4 separate regions of the Homo sapiens genome follow, and regions 1, 3 and 4 are each linked to region 2. Evidence: promoter capture Hi-C in human tissues and cell types (Jung and others, 2019). All regions are on one chromosome and are shown on one strand. Each heading gives the region's core, a stretch centred on a gene start or on the middle of the fragment in contact. The rest is flanking DNA. Distances are from core to core; before and after follow the strand shown.

What was found. Contacts are between HindIII fragments. The study calls those that stand out against the background at their distance.
Region 1: a fragment that was not itself captured here is called in contact with the fragment with the promoter of ZNF433 in region 2 in 1 of the 25 tissues and cell types used here (lymphoblastoid cells).
Region 3: a fragment that was not itself captured here is called in contact with the fragment with the promoter of ZNF433 in region 2 in 5 of the 25 tissues and cell types used here (H1 embryonic stem cells, IMR-90 fibroblasts, aorta and 2 more).
Region 4: a contact is called between the fragment with the promoter of ZNF799 here and the fragment with the promoter of ZNF433 in region 2, in 2 of the 25 tissues and cell types used here (bladder and small bowel).

The regions. Positions count from the first base shown.
Region 1 is chr19:12,458,359-12,461,060 of GRCh38, forward strand. No RefSeq gene overlaps it. Among named protein-coding and RNA genes, the nearest start is that of ZNF443, 19 kb to the left of the region's middle. The HindIII fragment of the contact is 6,925 bases long and covers 1-2,702 here.
Region 2 is chr19:12,034,328-12,037,034 of GRCh38, forward strand. It overlaps ZNF433 (zinc finger protein 433), which reads right to left and starts at 1,352. Exons shown (of 4, transcript NM_001308348.2): 1 at 1,210-1,352. The coding sequence starts at 1,212. ZNF433-AS1 (ZNF433 and ZNF878 antisense RNA 1) reads left to right here. Exons shown (of 3, transcript NR_134929.1): 2 at 1,227-1,445. RefSeq lists silencers at 887-1,006, 1,017-1,066, 1,307-1,466. The HindIII fragment of the contact is 13,566 bases long and covers 1-2,707 here.
Region 3 is chr19:12,314,573-12,317,406 of GRCh38, forward strand. No RefSeq gene overlaps it. Among named protein-coding and RNA genes, the nearest start is that of ZNF563, 18 kb to the right of the region's middle. The HindIII fragment of the contact is 6,161 bases long and covers 1-2,834 here.
Region 4 is chr19:12,400,013-12,402,712 of GRCh38, forward strand. It overlaps ZNF799 (zinc finger protein 799), which reads right to left and starts at 1,259. Exons shown (of 4, transcript NM_001080821.3): 1 at 1,056-1,259. The coding sequence starts at 1,058. RefSeq lists enhancers at 554-643, 1,364-1,413 and a silencer at 874-1,033. The HindIII fragment of the contact is 18,323 bases long and covers 1-2,700 here.

The DNA.
Region 1 (2,702 bases), core at 150-2,649, 420 kb after region 2:
AATGACATTAAACAGAAATGTAAACATCATCAACACCTGTGGCCCAAATCAATAGGAAATCTCAAATCCTAAATACTCATGTCCAAATTCATGATCATGCTTTACATGTCTCAAAAATTTTATCCATTATAAAAATAAAGATGAACCATATCTACACCTTTGTTTATGGGGAATCATTACTGTTCATCCCAGGGATGTAGGACTGTATTGTTCCCCAGCATACATCAAACCTGAGCAGTTCCTCAGTGTTTTAATAAGATATGTTAGATAGGCCAGGCTCAGTGGCTCATGCCTGTAATCCCAGCACTCTGGAAGGCTGAGGCAGGTGGATCACGAGGTCAAGAGATTGAGACCATCCTGGCCAACATGGTGAAACCCCGTCTCTACTAAAAATACAAAAATTAGCTGGGCGTGGTGGCACACACATGTAGCCTACTCAGGAGGCTGAGGCAGCAGAATCACTTGAACCTGGGAGGAGGGGGTTGCAGTGAGCCAAAATCACGCCACTGCACTCCAGCCTGGCAACAGAGTGAGACTCCGTCTAAACAAAAAAAAAGGCCAGGCGCGGTGGTTCACGCCTGTAATCCCAGCACTTTGGGAGGCCGAGGCGGGTGGATCATGAGGTCAGAAGATCAAGACCATCCTGGCCAACATGGTGAAACCTCGTCTCTACTAAAAATACAAAAAAAAAAAAATTAGCTGGGCGTGATGGTGGGCGCCTGTAATCCCAGCTACTCCGGAGGCTGAGGCAGGAGAATGGCTTGAACCCAGGAGGCGGAGGTTGCAGTGAGCCAAGATCACACTCCAGCCTGATGACAGAGAAAGACCCTGTCTCAAAAAAAAAAAAAAAAGATATGTTAGATAATGGAAATAAATGATCAATGACAATATTGGAGGTCCCTACCCTCCAAAGCTAAGGTATCCAACACAACCATAGCTTCCCTATTAATCTCACAGGTTGGTTGTTATTTCATTTCCTTCAAAGATCTTAATTGCTTTCTAAAAACCAAATCCTCACCTTTTATTAACCATCTCTCTTTTCCCAAATCTATAAGCAACAGGAAGGCAAGAACTTGTTTCATGTTTCTATATCCATAGCCTACAATGTCTTGATTATTTGTGCTGAATTGTGTATGCTTTGATACTACAGTGCCAGGCCTATGAGAAAGGTTAAAAAAATCAGCATCAAGAGCAAGATGGCTTGATTTGAACAGTGATTCTGTCTTTGCACCTTGCTAGGTTTGTGGTCTCTGAAAACTTATCTACACTTACAGGACTCTGCTAGTGCACAAAAGAGAAAAAAAAGTATATAGTTTGCTAAAGACTCAGTGAACTTACATATTTTGACTGAGATATTTTGTGGAAAACATTGTCCAATACACCATAAGAAATATTTCCATGTTTAGATAATAAGAAAGGTTAAGAGCAGTTCCACAGGACTAGGATCTGACCTCACACTCAGATAAGGCCAAGTCTTATCCTGTTGAAGAGAAAAATGTCACATTTCCTTCATCAGACAAAGCTACTCAGCAATCATGATGGATCAAGACAAAAACAATAACCATGTCTCTAAAAATGGTAAAAGAGAACAGAGTTGAAGCCATTAAAATGACCAAAATTGCCCTCTACTCACTAATCCAAGTGAGTGGTTTCTTAGGAATTAGGTTTAGCTCCACTTCATTCTTCCTGCCTCTAGATAAGAATTATGATTACCAGTGACACAATTAAGTTCACCTCACAGCAGGCAACACACACAGGAGTGTCTCAGTTTGGTGATTAGCAATCAAGTCACCCAACAAATCCAAATCCAAAAAGAAGTTGTTTTGAGAAGGAGTCTTGCTCTGTCGCCCAGGCTGGAGCACAGTGGCGTGATCTCGGCTCACTGCAACCTCCACCTCCTGGGGTTCAAGCAATTCTCCTGCCTCAGCCTCTTGAGTAGCTGGGATTACAGGTGCACGCCACCATGCCCGGCTATTTTTTATATATTTTTTAGTAGAGATGGGGTTTCACCATGTTGGCCAGGCTGGTCTCGAACTCCTGACCTTGTGATCTGCCCACCTTGGCCTCCCAAAGTACTGGGATTACAGGCATGAGCCACTGCGCCCAGCCGAGCACCCTCTTACTGATACTCCCCAGAGTCATTTATGGTTTATGATCATTCTTATTCCTACAATTCTTAACACTCTTCTCTTGACTACAGGTGTGATCCTGGTGATCTTTGAAAAAAAGGCACTGAAACAACCATGATTTAAGTTTTTGGTATTATGAATGCATGAGAAATTTTCTGGGAAAAAATCATAACTATATTAAGAATAAAAAATAAAAAATTCCTAAGGAAAATACTTGATCTTGTATGCACATAATATTGACTCAGAATATATGAGGATTAACTCAATAAACTTAAAAACTTAATCTGAAAATCACTGGATTAAGAAAATGTGGCACATATACACCATGGAATACTATGCGGCCATAAAAAAGGATGAGTTCATGTCCTTTGTAGGGACATGGATGAAGCTGGAAACCACCATTCTCAGCAAAGTATCACAAGGACAAAAAACCAAACACCACATGTTCTCACTCACAGGTGGGAATTGAACAATGAGAACACTTGGACACAGGAAGGGGAACATCACACACGGGCCTGTTATGGGGTGGGGGGAGGGGGGAGGGATAGCATTAGGAGATATACCTAATGTAAA
Region 2 (2,707 bases), core at 102-2,601:
TTAAAGTAATGTGACTCTGGAATTGAGTCACCTGACACTGGAAAGAGCCAGCTGGAACCCTCCCACACTTGACTACAGATTAACCATCAGACAGGCTTCACTATACCTGGACAGGCCTCATTATACCCGCTTCCTTTAGGAGTTTCCACATAGCCACTGACCCACCTTCATGTTAAAACAGACATCAGCCAACTGGAAACACAGACTCTCTGTGACAATAAGAAACCAAATTACAAACAAGACCTAAGGCCATGCAAGGCAAGAGGTAAGTCAAATCTTAGAATTCACAAAATCTAAAGAAACAGGTCTTTTGTTTTGGGTGGGATGAAATCATATGACAGATACCAGACCCTCTTCACTTAAGCAATCCTTCCTACCGCCTCGAAGTTTTAGACAAAGCTTCACACTCTCCACCAACGGCCACCTTCAGAATCCCTCAACCACCTGCACCTTCTAACCCCCCTTCCACAGGTCCCGCCCTTTCTGCCAAAGGAACTTACACCTTTCCAGGCATTGATGCATGATTCTCCCTGCAATTCCTGTCTCCCTGAAATGAATAAAAACAGTCTTGAGCCGCCTCGGGACCACTTACTTCAGGCCTCCTGGGGTTGTGTTTTCCTCAGCTGAGGCCTCTCCTATTCGGCTCTGAATAAACTTCTTTAAGTTATTTTACACAGCTTGGCATTTTCCGTTAACAAATTACAAGCCAGGACTGGGTGTTTATCATTCAGGAATCTCAAAGGAACTCTAATTATTAATATATTTTTTAAAACCTATTCTGAGAAGCAAAACTATAATTGTTAACGTGTCTCAGTTTAATTTTTAAGAGGAGAAAGGCGCTACTGGGGACCCCACAGCCCACCCTCCTCCTACACAAACCCCCACACCCGAGGCGGGATCCCCCCATGACCCTCGCGTAGTCCCCGCACAATGTGGGGAGACGCGGGGCAGCGGGCGCGGAGCTGCCCAGAGAGGGCTCTGGGAACTGGGTGACAGTCACCGCGCAGGGACAGGACGAGACGCCCGGGTCCCGGCGGCCGGCCCAGCCCCACTGTGGGGCCAAGGGGACCAAGGGCCGAGCTGTCCCACGGGAAATCGGGTCCCAGACCCCGGAGTCGCCGCGGGGAGGCCCGGGTCCCACCACAGCCGGTTCCGGCCGGTTCCAACCAGCTCCTCCCCCGCCTCGGGACCCCTGGCCCGCACGCTCACCATTTCTTGCCTTTCAGGTGACTCCCACGACCAGTGCGGGTCACAGCACAGGCGACAGAAGCTATGGCAGAGGCACCTGAACCCTCTCGGAGGGGAAAGCCAGGCTCCCAACCTCAGCTCGCCGCCTGGAGCCGGGAACCGAGGAGAGCAGGGCCTTCGCCCTCCCCGATGGACACTCGGCAGGCCCCGCCCAGCGCCCCTGATTGGACGAAGCGCCGGGCCCCGCCCCCTCAGCCGTGAGTGACAATAGAAGCCCTTGGTAACGGGGCTCTGAAAACGGGTTTGACCGGATCCAGCGATAGATTCTTTAAGCCAGAGGTCTGTAACCTTTTTAGCACCAGAACCGGTTTCGTGGAAGACAGTTCTCCTACGGGGGCAGATAGTTTCGGAATGAAACTTCCACCTCAGATCAGGCATTTTATCCTCATAAGGCGAACCCAACCTAGATCCCTCGCATGTGCAGCTCACAATAGGGTTCGGGCTCCTATGACAGACTAATGCCTCTGCTGATCTGACAGGAAGCATATCTCTGGCGATAATGCCCGCTGGCTCGCCCGCCAGCCGCTCACCTCCTGCTGTGCGGACTGGTTCCTTACAGGCCATGGACCGGGGGTTGGGGACCCCTGCCATAGAGTACTGTTGAATAGAAACTTTAGCTCGTCCGGCGGTGGGCTGGGGGGGTGGGGGTAGCTCATGCCTGTAACCCCACCACTTTGGGAAGCCAAGGCAGGCAGATTGCTTGAGCCTAGGAACTTAAGCCCAGCCTGGGTAACATAGCAAAACCCCGCCTCTACAAAAAATACAAAAATTAGTCGGGCGTGGTGGTACATGTTTGCAGTCCCAGCTACTCGGAAGGCTGAAATGAGAGGATCGCCTGAGCCCAGAGAGGTCGAGGCCACAGTGAGCTGTGATTTTACCAGCCTGGATGTCAGAGTGAGACCCTGTCTCCGAAAAAAAAAAAAAAAAAAAAGACAGGGAATTGCAGTGGAGTTTAATATACATAGAGCCGGCTAAATGAAAGAGAAGAGTTTTATTTTTATTCAATTCTGTCTCCCTAAAAAATGGGAGGCTAGGTTTTGTTTTTTTGGTTTTTTTTTGAGACGGAATCTCTCTGTCGCCCATGCTGGAGTGCAGTGGCGCAATCTCGGCTCAGTGCAACCTCCGCCTCCCGGGTTCAAGCGATTCTCCTGCCTCAACCTCCTGAGTAGCTGGGATTACAGGCATGCGCCACCATGCCCGGCTAATTTTTGTATTTTTAGTAGAGACGGGGTTTACCATGTTGGTCAGGCTGGTCTCAAACTCCTGACCTCATGATCCACCCGCCTCGGCCTCCCAAAGTGCTGGGATTACAGGCCTGAGCCCCCGCACCCGGCCGAGGCTAGGGTTTTAAAGATAATTTGGTGAGCAGAAGGCTGGAAAATGGGGAATGCTGATTGGTCGCGAAAAGGATATCACAGGAAGTCTCAGCTGTCTTCTTGCACTGAGTCAGTTCTTGGCT
Region 3 (2,834 bases), core at 331-2,830, 280 kb after region 2:
AGGCATGTTCTGGAAGAGGATGCCCAATTGTACCTTCATCACAAGAGTACAAAGAAAGCCTTGGGGTTCATGACTTGGAAAGATTGCCTTACTCTGGTGCTACGTGGCAATGCAGCAGGTCATAAGATCAAACAAAGCCTCCTCTACTAAGTAAACAATCCGTGGGTCCTTGAAAACAAAAGCGAAACTTGCCTGCCCGTGTCCTGACAAAAACACACGAGGACTTGGTTCTACCACTGCTTCATTCCTGATGTGAATGAATACCTTGAAAAGAAGGGGCTGCCACTCAAGGCCCTCCTCATAACTGACAACGCTCCTGGCATCTCTCTTCTCTCTGTTATGCCGATAAAAATGGGGAAGTGATGTTCCTGCCTCCTAAAACTACATCACTGCTACAACTACTTGATCAAAGCATCATCAAGTGCCTCAAGGTGTCTTACACCCACTGGACTTTTGGAAGGATTTATGCTGTCTTGATAATAACCCTCACCATGTCATACAGGATTTATGGAAGAGCTTCCCAACTGCAGAAACGATTGTGTTTATTGCGGAGGCTGTAAATGCCCTACAGCTCAAGACAGCCAAAGTGTGTTGGAAGCCATTATGGAGTGAGGAAGTCAATGATTTCAGGCGCTTCTGCACTATCGATATGATAGTCAGAAATATCTTAAATGTAAGGAAAGTTGGTGGGGAAGGCTATCTCTGACACAAGTGAAGACAATGTTGAGGAACACACAGAAGAGCAAAGAAGAAACCTTTACTAACAAGGAACTAGAAGATATGCTGAAATCCTCTATAGATGATGATGATGATGATGTAGATTTAGAAGAGGCAGTGCCGCCAGGCGTGGTGGCTCACGCCTGTAATCCCAACAGTTTGGGAGGCCGAAGCGGGTGAATCACCTGAGGTCACGAGTTTAAGACCAGCCTGGCCAACATGGTGAAACCCCGTCTCTACTAAAAATACAAAAATTAGCTGGGTGTGGTGGCGGGCACCTGTAATCCCAGCTACTTGGGAGGCTGAGGCATGAGAATCGCTTGAACCCAGGAGGCAGTGTTTGCAGTGAGCCGAGATCGTGCCACTGCACTCCAGCCTGGGTGACAGAGTGAGACTCAGTCTCAATAAATAAATAAAGAGGCAGTGCCATAAGTGGTGGCTCATGCCTGTAATCCCAGCATTCTGAGAGGCCAAGGCAGGCAGATCACTTGAAGTCACAGGGAGTTCAAAACCAGCTTGGCAAACATGGCGAAACCCTGTCTCTACTAAAAATACAAAAATTAGCTGGGCATGGTGGTGCATGCCTGTATTCCCAGCTACTTGGGTGGCTGAGGCAGGAGGATCACTTGAACTTGGGAGGTGGAGGTTGCAGTGAGCTGAGATTGTAATCCCAGCTCCTCAGGTGGCTGATGCAGGAGGATCACTTGAACCTGGGAGGTGGAGGCTGCAGTGAGCTGAGATTGCACCACTGCACTTCAGCCTCAGCGACAGAGTGAGACTCTGTCTGAAAAAAAAAAAAAGAAGCAGTGCTATAGATTTTGATACTTGAAAAATCTGAAGGCTGGGTGTGGTGGCTCACCCTGTAATCCTAGTAATTTGGGAGGCCAAGGCAGGCAGATCTCTTGATTCCAGGAGTTCAAGACCAGCCTGGGAAACATGGTGAAACCTTGTCTCCACAAAAAACACAAAAAGTAGCCAGGCATCGTGATGTGTGCCTATAATCCCAGCTACTTGGGAGGCTGAGGTGGGAAGATCACTTGAGCCCAGGAAGTTGAGGCTGCAGTGAGCCATGCACTGTAGGGTGACAGAGTGAGATCTTGTCTTAAAAAAAAAAAAAAAGAAAAGAAAAAGAAAAAAAAAGAAAAATTGGAAGCAGTTTTAGGGCACCTACAGCTTCTACAAGGCGCAAGTGTTAAAGATTATCATCCTCAATTAAGATTCTTCCATGGAACAAAGCCTCCATGTCACCCCAGAGATTACATGCTCACAAACGTTGCAAAGTTTAAAAAAAAAAAAACTAGCTTCCTACAATGTTTCTAATTAAATATCTGCAAATATGAAGACAGCCTTCAATGCTTAAAGATCTTCAGTCCTCAAATTGAACAGATTCTGACATTAGTATTATTTAGACTGCTCCAAAAATTCAGTATCTGCAGTCAGAATCTGTTTCTTCCAATATAGTTGATCATGTTGACATCCTGTCAAGATTCGAGTTAGCCTGAGGTCTCACTGCTTATCTGTGGTGTCACACATCTAGCTGACTCAACACATCACAACATTAGGCACGATATTGCAATAATCATCATTACACTTTTGTTGGGTGAATGTTAACACATTTTCAGGTCATTAAACAAAAGCAATCTATGAGTGTTGAAAGAAAAGATTTATAATGCTCTAGGTGACATGTATTATGTGGGTGGGTCTGTACTGAATATGTGTAGGGTCTTTCTCATATCATGATTCACTAAACAATATAATAACAACTATTTACATAGCTTCTATGATGCATGATGTATTTTAACTAATCTACAGATGATTTAGAGTATACAGGAGGATGTGGGTAGGTTACATGCAAATATTTTTTATTGTTATTATTTTTTTGAGACAGGGTCTCATTCTGTTGCCCATGCTAGAATGCAGTGATGTGATTTTGACTCACCGCAACCTCAACCTCCCAGGCTCAAGCGATCCTCCCACCTCAGCTTCCCTAGTAGCTGGGACTACAGGTACATGTCACCACACCTGGCTAATTTGTGTATCTTCTGTAGAGACAGGGTTTTGCCACATTACCCAGGCTGGCCTCTAACTCCTGGGCTCAAGTGATCCACCTGTCTTGG
Region 4 (2,700 bases), core at 9-2,508, 370 kb after region 2:
GTGAAATATCGCCTGGGGGCCAAACAGTTCATACCGTTGCTGTGAATTAAGGACAGAAGGTTAGCCTGGGGAAGTCTCTGGAAACCAAGAGATTTGCTGCCAGCCCTAGGAGGAGTCAGGATGAGAGAACACAGTGGTGGATTTGAGACCCTGCTAACCACATCTTTGGAAGACTCAGAGGGGAAACGGTCGCCCTTGGAAAGAAAGAAGGGACTGAGGACCACGGAGACCACAGCTCCTCCCACACACAAACCCCACACACGAGTCTGGATTCCACCTGGTGACTCGTCGTCACCGTGCAGCCTCCTCACCGGGTTCACAGGAACTGCGAGCCAGGCTGGAGGCGAGATTGCAGTTAGATATTAACCAGGTGCCCTCAGCCCCGCTGCCTCAAGGGGCCGCCTCCCTGAGAGTCAGGTCACAGCAGACGCTGACCGCCGGCTTCCCCATTGTGCCTGGGGATAAGATCTCTGAGAACTGCTCAAGAGTCGCCGGAGTTCTCAGATCCTGAATCCCAGCAAAGGCTGGCGCCAATCAGGTTGAAGTCCCAACGAGGGAGCCCATTCAGCAGAATGCGGTTTCTTCACCTCCTGTCCCAGGATTCACCCCTCACTTCCCCACCAACCAACGACCCTACACCCAGCCGCCCCCGTCCAGACCCCAAATCCCTCAGGGAGGCGGATCTGGGGTGTCCTCCCCTCTCTGGCTATTAAACTGTTTCTGCTGCAGCCCTCAGCGTCTCGGTGCAGTGAGTCGGGCCGCGAACCTGTGTTGCTTACAGCCGCACAATCTCGGGAGACGCGAGGCTGCGGGCGCGGAGCTGCCCAGAGAGGGCGCCGGGGCCGCAGTCGCCGCGCAGGAACGGGACAGGACGCCCGGGGTCCCGGCTGCATGCCCAGCCCCACCCTGCGGCCGAGGGCCGACCTACGCCAGGGGAACCCGGGTCCGTAGATCCCGGAGTAGCCCTTGGGGAGGCCCGGGTCCAGCCACAGCCGATTACTGCAGGTTCCACCCAGCCCCTCCCCCGCCTCGGGACGCCGGCCCAGCACACGCACCATTTCCCGACTTCCGCGGTGTCCCAGGTCCTCCGGACGGCTCCCGCTGCCAATGCGGGTTCCCGCGGGACACAGGCTGCCACGGAACTTCCAGGTCGTCTCTTAGCTACAGAGCCGAGCACCGAGCGCCCAGCGCAGGTGGGTGGAGAAGACGCCGCGGGCTTTTTCAACCACACACTCCTCTGGGAAGCGCGCCTGATTGACAGTTCCCACGAACCCGCCCCACGGCCCTTACTGGATACGGCGTCAGGTGCCGCCCCTCGTGGACTGATTGACAGAAGAAGCGATCTTGCACAGCTGAGTGGAGCCAGATGAGCAAGTTCCTGACACAGCCCTTGGCAGGGCGGGCTTCCTCCCTGCTCTTTGATCTGAATCCTCCCGAGGGATATTTGCACTTAAGCGGAATTTCCTGCCTGTACTCAATAGGACCTCCTGCTTCTTCCTCCTGTACACTGACTGACAAAACAATTATACTTTTTTTTTTTTTTTTTTTTTTTTTTCCGAGAGAGAGAGAGAGAGAGAGAGAGAGAGAGGGAGTCTTGCTCCGTGGCTCAGGCTAGAGTGCAATGGTGCGAGGCTCACTGCGACCTCCGCCTCCTAGGTGGGTTCAAACAATTCTGCCTCAGCCTCCCGAGTAGCTGGGATTACAGGTGCGCGCCACCACACCCGGCTAATTTTTGTATGTTTTAGTAGAGGCCGGGTTTCACCATGTTGGCCAGGCTGGTCTCGAACTCCTGACCTCGTGATCCGCCCACCTTGGCCTCCCAAAGTTCTGGGATTAGAGACGTGAGCCATCGCGCCTGGCTCCAATTATACTCTTTTTCAATGAAATTTTTCAAAATATTTCAATGTACAATTAAATTATTTTTTACTATAGTCACTCTGTTGTGCTAGCAAATACTAGGTCTTATTCATTCTTTGTAACTATTTTTTATACCTATTAACCATCCCCACTTCCCCCATAACTACTCCTCGCTACTACTTTTCCCAGCCTGTGGTAACCATCCTTCTACACGTTTTTGGTTGTTTGAGATGGGGTCTTGCTCTGTTGCCTAGGCTGGAGTGCAGTGGGGCCATCATGGCTCACTGCAACCTCTACCTCCCAAGCTCAAGCAATCCTCCCACCTCAGCCTCTCAAGTAGCTTCAGATTGTTCACTGTTGGCATATAAAAATGTTACTGATTTTTGTATGTTAATATTGTATCCTGCAACTTTACTGAATTTATTTCTCAGTTCTAATACTTTTTTGGTGGAGTCTTTAGGTATTTCCAGATATAAGATCATATTATATGCAAACCAGGATAATTTGACTTCTTCCTTTCCTTCCCAATATAGATGCCCTTTATTTCTTTTTTTTTTTTTTTTTGGACTTATTGCTCTAGCTGGGACTTCGAGTACTGTGCTGAACAACAGTGGTAAAAGTGGGCATTCTTATTGTGTTCCAGATCTTACAGGAAAGGCTTTCAGTTTTTCCTCATTCATTATCATGCTAGCTGTGGGTCTGCCATATATGGCTTTTATTATGTTAAGGTAGCTGCTTCTATACCCAGTTTTTTTTTAGGGTTTTTATCATGAAGGGATGTTAAATATTATCAAAAGCTTTTTCAGTGCACATTGAAATGATTATATGGTGTTTGCCCTTTAT